Regions from separate parts of the Homo sapiens genome. Here region 1 is linked to region 2. The links are contacts of gene promoters, found by promoter capture Hi-C in human tissues and cell types (Jung and others, 2019). All regions are on one chromosome and are shown on one strand. Each heading gives the region's core, a stretch centred on a gene start or on the middle of the fragment in contact. The rest is flanking DNA. Distances are from core to core; before and after follow the strand shown. Region 1 overlaps PRDX6-AS1 (PRDX6 antisense RNA 1). Region 2 holds the start of CACYBP (calcyclin binding protein).

The links. The method cuts DNA at HindIII sites, captures the fragments that hold promoters and counts their contacts. A contact is called where the count stands out against the background at its distance.
Region 1: a fragment that was not itself captured here is called in contact with the fragment with the promoter of CACYBP in region 2 in 1 of the 25 tissues and cell types used here (mesenchymal stem cells).

The regions. Positions count from the first base shown.
Region 1 is chr1:173,445,227-173,448,311 of GRCh38, forward strand. The region is part of intron 1 of PRDX6-AS1 (PRDX6 antisense RNA 1); the gene reads right to left. All of the region lies in intron 2 of LOC100506023 (a long non-coding RNA gene), which reads right to left. It also overlaps a transcript of TNFSF4 not described here. Among named protein-coding and RNA genes, the nearest start is that of PRDX6-AS1, 15 kb to the right of the region's middle. RefSeq lists an enhancer at 3,083-3,085. The HindIII fragment of the contact is 4,095 bases long and covers 1-3,085 here.
Region 2 is chr1:174,998,611-175,001,939 of GRCh38, forward strand. CACYBP (calcyclin binding protein) reads left to right here and starts at 1,337. Exons shown (of 6, transcript NM_014412.3): 1 at 1,337-1,585. The coding sequence starts at 1,571. It overlaps LOC105371622 (a long non-coding RNA gene), which reads right to left and starts at 1,036. Exons shown (of 2, transcript NR_188647.1): 1 at 985-1,036. RefSeq lists enhancers at 458-667, 610-1,146, 698-1,207 and a silencer at 1,238-1,357. The HindIII fragment of the contact is 5,191 bases long and covers 1-2,186 here.

The DNA of each region.
Region 1 (3,085 bases), core at 321-2,820, 1.6 Mb before region 2:
TGCAGTCAGATTATGAAGAGAAGTCAAAAACTGAAACAGCAATTTGCACAGGATTAAGTTTCTCATTTTATTTCCTCTTTCTTTTCACAGGCTTTGGCTGAAAGCAATCACACAAATGAGCTGCGATGGGGGTGCTGCAGACAGCTAATACTTTCAGATAAATCCCTTCTGTCTAGAAAGAAGGCTGGGATCCTTTAAGCTGAAGAACATAGAAAGGAATCCTTGCATTCTCATTCCCTCCCCCATTTTCACAGCTTGCCTAGCAGAGCCAGGGTGAAAAGTAGCATGGTCGGCTAAAATCCCAATAGAAATTCTGTTTTTCTAGTTAAACAAACAGAAAAGGGCTCCTGTGGTCCAGAGAGTACTGGAGTAAGTCAGTAGGTAAATTTTCTCTCTCTTTTTTCCATCTCCACATAGCACCCAAAATGGTCCTGGTCACAGGACCTGGTAGCAACACAGGCAGCCAAAACTCCAAAAGAACCCCGGTCTATTGAGCCAGAGGATGAGGAATAGAAAACATATAGGTAGGTGACTATGGGGAGTCCCGGAGATAAGAGATTAGAGAAATGGATCTCCTAACTCTGTGTATGACCTAGCACAGGCCCAGGCTTAACCCTGAGCTGTGCATGCATGGAACATACTCAAAGCTGCCAAGTAGAGGTTCCGAAAACTGAGATAACATTGGAAGTATCACTCATAAAGTACAGATAGTCTGAACAAAACCAGTGTGATTACCTACTCAAATAAGCAAACAATCTTCCAAATCTCTTGAGGATTTTAATGAAAAACATCCAAATTAAATACTCAGAATGTCCAGGATACAATCTAAAATCACTCAGCGTACAAAGAACCAATAAAAGTTTACTAATTTGCATGAAAAGTACAGTCAATAAATGCTACCACTGAGAAGACCAAGATGGTAGAATAATCAGGCACAGATTTTAAGGCAACTATCGTAACTATGCTCCACAAAGTAAAGATAAACACTCTTGAACAAAGGGAAAAAAACAGAAATTATTGGCAGAATAATAGAAACTATAAAAAAAAAGAACCATCTTACAAAATTAAGCATATTTTTAACATACAATCCAGCAATCACATCCCTTGGCATTTATTCAAATGAGTTAAAAACATATGTCCACACAAAAACCTGCACATGGATGTACATAGTGACTTTATTCATAACTGCCAAAACCTTGAAGCAGCCAAGACTGTCCTTCAGTAAGTGAATGAATAAATAAACTGTGTGTAATGGTTAATACTGAGTGTCAACTTGATTGAATTGAAGGATGCAAAGTATTGTTCCTGGGTGTGTCTGTGAGGGTGTTGCCAAAGAAGATTAACATTCGAGTCAGTGGACTGGGAGAGGCAGACCCCCCCTCAATCTGGGTGGGCACCATCTAATCAGCTGCCAGTACAGCTATAAAGGCATGCAGGAGAAGATGGAAAAGTAGACTTGCTCGGTCTTCTGGCCTTCATCTTTCTCCCCTGCTGGATGCTTCATGCCCTCAAACAATAAATTCCAAGTTCTTCAGCTTTTGGACTCTTGGACTTACACCAGTGTTTTGCCAAGGGCTCTCAGACCTTCAGCTGCAGACAAGGCTGCACTGTTGGCTTCCCTACTTTTGAGGTTTTGGGACTTGGACTGGCTTCCTTGCTCCTCAGCTTGTAGATAGCTTATTGAGTGACTTTGCCTTGTGATAATGTGAGTCAATACTCCCTAATAAACTCCCCTTCATATATACATCTATCCTATTAGTTCTGTCCCTCCACGGAGCCCTGACTAATACACTGTGGTATATCCATACAATGGAACATTATTCAGTTCTAAAAGGAATGAGCTATCAAGGCATGAAAATACAAGGAAGAAACTTAAATACATGTTATTAAGTTAAAGAAGCCAATCTGAAAGGATTATATATTGTATGATTCCTACTATGCGATATTCTGGAAAAGGCAAAAGTATAGAAACAGTAAAAAAGTCAGTGATTGCCAGAGTTTAGCAGGGAAGGAGAGATGAATATGCAGAATATAGACAATTTTTACAGCAGTGAAACTATTCTGTATGATACTATAATGGTGGCTATATGTCATTATAGATTTGTTCAAACCCACAGAATCTGCAACACCAAGAATAAACCCCTTATGTAAATTATGGACTTTGGGTGATAGTGAGGTTTCAGTATAGGTTCATCACCCGTAACAAAGGTACCACTCTGGTACCAGATGTTGACAGTGTGGGAGGTTGTGCATGTGTAGGGGTAGAGGGCATATGGGAACTCTCTGTACTTTTCACTCAATTTGTCTGTGAACCCACAACTGCTCTAAAAATAGTCTTTTTAAAGATTTTTTTAAAGAATGAAATGGAAATTTTAGAAGTGAAAAAAATACACTGTGTGAAGTTAAGAAATCAATTGATGGGTTCGACAGCAAAATACAGAAAAAAGAAAAAAAGAGTCAGCAAACATAGTGAGACATCAATAGAAAGGGAAAACAGAGGAATTAAAGACAGAGGAGACAACTAGAAAATCAATAATAAAATAAATTCAAACATATCAATAATTACATTAAATATAAATTATCTAAGCACACCAATTAAAACATCGAGTTTGTCAAATTTGATTAAAAATAAATAAGACCTAACTATCTACAAGAAACCTACTTTAAAAATAAAGACATAGATGGGAATAGAAGTAATAAGATGAAAGAAGAGATACCATACAAACACTAATCGAAAGAAAAAATGTAGTGGCTATATTAATATCAAAGTAGATTTCAAAGCAAGAAATACTACTAAAGATAAACAGAGATATTGCATAATGGGATAAGGTTCAATTAATCAAGAAAACATAACAATCTTAAATGTACACACCTATTAAGAGAAGTTCCAAAAACTTAAAACAGAAACAGAAATGAGAACTAGATAAATCCACAACCATAGTTGGAGACTTTGACTTTCCTCTCACAGTAATTGATAGAAGTAGACAGAAAATCAGTACCAACAGATGAGACCCAAACAACGTTATGTCCAGTTGACATAATTTACCTTTATAAAACACTCTACCCAACAAAGGTAGAAAACTTT
Region 2 (3,329 bases), core at 87-2,586:
ATCTATAATCAGTGTCCAAATCAAGAAACATTACCTGAACCTCAAAAGCCCCCTGGTGGCTCTTTCATGTCATTGTCCTCCCCACTATGCTCATTAACACCATGGGCTAGTTTTTAAATGGAACCACGCAATATGAACTCTTCCATGTCTGGCTTCTTTCCCTCAACTTCATTTTTTTGTGTGAAATTCACGCATGTTGCGTTTCGGTAATTTATTTTTGTACTGTACTTCCGATTCTTTACTACAGATAATGGTCAGCCTCCATTCCGCTAACAGCTTTTTTTCCTCTCCGAGTTGCTGATTCTAATTGCTGCCTTGGACGATCTATAAAGCTGAGTGCGCGCTATGTGACCTCTCAGGGGTCGCTGCCTTGGACGATCTGTAAAGCTGAGTGCGCGCTATGTGACCTCTCAGGGGTTGTTTCCAACCGTGTTGTTGACATCTTGAGCCTGCCAAGGACTAGAATAATCTGAAAACTAGGCTTCTCTGGGGGTCTCACTGAGTGACAGGGTTAGAACCAGAAGAGAACATCGTCTCCAGAAGACATTTCACCATTTTCTTTGATGGTAAACAGGCTCACTTATACCGAATCCAAACCCAGGCGAGAACTACGGACTCTTGAAATGGTCGGTGAAAGGGGCGAAAGCACCAGGAAATCGTGCTTCAACAGTCCATGACTGAAAGGAGGGCCTGAAACTGTGGCCATAGGCGGGCCCTTTTGTTAGGGCCTTGACCTGGGCTTCCGCTACAGGGCCCGGTCACGAGGCCAACGTAGCTCCACCTCCTACGGCGGCCAGTGATGACGCCACCACGTCGGAACTGTTAGACCGCGGTGACGTCTCCACCGCGCCAAACTCACTGAAAATCAAACCGCTACCATTAGGAGCCCTCCACGCTTAACATATCCGTTCTTTCTCGTTTGAAAGTAACCAGGCTGCTCCTCCCCATTTTTCGCCTTCTTCTCGCGGAGGCTGAGAGACTAACCTTACACAACATGGCGGCCTGGTGTGTCTGGTGTCCTAGAGCGGACGAAAGCAGGTGACTCTCTAGTCAACTTCCGACTTGGACTCCGAAGATCGGTACGTTATTTCCGGGGCTGGGTTAACGCAGCGGTTCCGAGCTGCGACTGCGCAGCGTGGCCCAGCGCGGTCAAATTATAATACATAAAAGTTGTCAGGGCGGAGAGCAAGACATTACTCTTCTCGGATTGCCGGTTCGCTCGCGAGACTTGAGCGTTGCTAGGAGATTCGGCAGGCGGGCGGAGCCAGACTCGGCGGGGCGGGGAGGGGTGGGGCTAGGCTCGGCGAGGCGAGGAAGGGTGGGTGGAGCCAGGCTTGGCGGGCTGTGCGTGCTCGCGGTGGGCGGTGGCGGCGGCTGCCTCGCGAAGGTTCGAGATCCGTCGCGTGCGGGAGGCGGGCCGCGATCTTGCGCAGGGTCGGTGTGGGCGCAGGCTGCAGCGCCGCGACTCGTGCGGGTAGGCGTCTGCGCTCGGTTTGAGGGCTCGGCGCGGGGTTTCCTGTTCCTCCTTCTGCGCGGCTGCAGCTCGGGACTTCGGCCTGACCCAGCCCCCATGGCTTCAGAAGAGGTAAGTGGTCCGGCCCCATATTCCTTATGCCCCCCGGCTGGAGCTGCAGCGCCAGCCTCCCGCCCTACCGCCGTTTCCGTGGGCTGAGCCGCCCTGCGGCCACCCGGTCCCGCGCCAGTCAGTGCGCCGCCTTCCCGGGGGACACCTCACTCGCCCCTTGCTGCGCCGTCGGCTCCCCAGCGCTTCCACTCGACCTCGCACCCCACTCGCCTGCTGGGCTCGAGCGGGGGTGTGCGGCGATTATCCGTGCAGGCGGTGCGGGGAGTGGGTCTGGGAGAGCGGCCCTTTGCGCGTGTTCCTCAGGCCCTTTCTGCCCTGGTTTCCCAGCCAGTGGACAGGAAGCTTCATTCAAGCAAAGCTGGGTGCAAACATGAGTGTCGTTCTTGGTAGAGGGCGGTTGGAAGGTGAGTTCTCAGTGCTAGCACTTGAATTCTCCTAGTCAGGTTTTCTCTACACACGAGGAGCTGTGTTACTCTGGGCAAGTTGTTTAGCTTCTCTGTGTCGCAGTAGCATCCATTTCATAGGGTTGTTAAAAAATATGATTTCTAGGTGTTTAAGTCAGTGATTGGCAAACAGCAATCTGCTGTATGTGATTTTTAAAATAAATAACTTGGAAAGTTAGTTGTAATTAATAGTAAGAAAGCGAATGGCCTGTGTTAAAGCTCTGTAAACTCTGAACGTTGGAGAATTAAATTTTGTGGAGACTTAGTTTGCTCAGTTAGAAAATGGGAATGATAGTACTTGTATTGCTCATTTCCTGGCGTAAGTGGGAGGTGAAGACGGGACAGTTATTCACAGTTAAGTGTTGGGTGTGTATTAACTAGATTTGCTTTATGAAAACAAGTACTGGGGAGTCCCAAGCTTTTGTTTTGTTTTGTTTTTGTTTTTTAAACTCAAAATCTTTTCTTTAAATGAAGAAAAACTATGAGGTTTGTGTGTTCCAGTATTAATCTGGGTATCTTGTGACAAGTCTTTTAAGGTAGGTCTTGGGTACTATGTGCCCCTAGGAGATAACTTCACAGTCTTGCAGGTGGATAGCTCAGTGTTAGTCCTCTTGAAAGTAGAGATCGTTCTCAGTTTAGGCACTTAGAAATATACATTTGAGGGCACTTGATTTTTGTTTTGTTTGAGATAAAATTCAAGTTTTTAACCATTTTAAAGTGTACAATTCAGGTATTTGTTTTTTGTTTAAATATATTCACAGTGTAGTGCAGCCATCACCACTGTCTAGTTTCAGGACATTTTCATCACTCCAGAAAGAAACCATGTAGTGTGTTTTAAACAATTGCTTCCCATTCCTCCCTCAGCCCCTGACAACTACTCATCTTGTACTTTCTGTGAATTTGCCTATTGTAGGCATTTCATATAAATGGAGTCACGCTGTATGTGGCCTTTTGTTTTTTGGCTCCTTCAACTTAGCACTAACATTTTCAAGTTCATCCATGGTGTAGCGTGTATCAGTACACATGCTCTTTATGGCTAAATAATATTCTATTATATGCATGTGGCACATTGTGTTTATCCTTTCATCCGTTTATGGACATTTATTTCCACTTCTTTGTTTGAGACGGAGTCTCGCTCTGTCGCCCAGGCTGGAGTGCAATGGCGCAATCTCGGCTCACTGCAATCTCCGTCTCCCGGGTTCAAAGGATTCTCCTGCCTTAGCCTCCTGAGAAGCTGGGATTACAGGCGCGCGCCACCATGCCCGGCTAATTTTTGTATTTTTAGTAGCGACGGGGTTTCA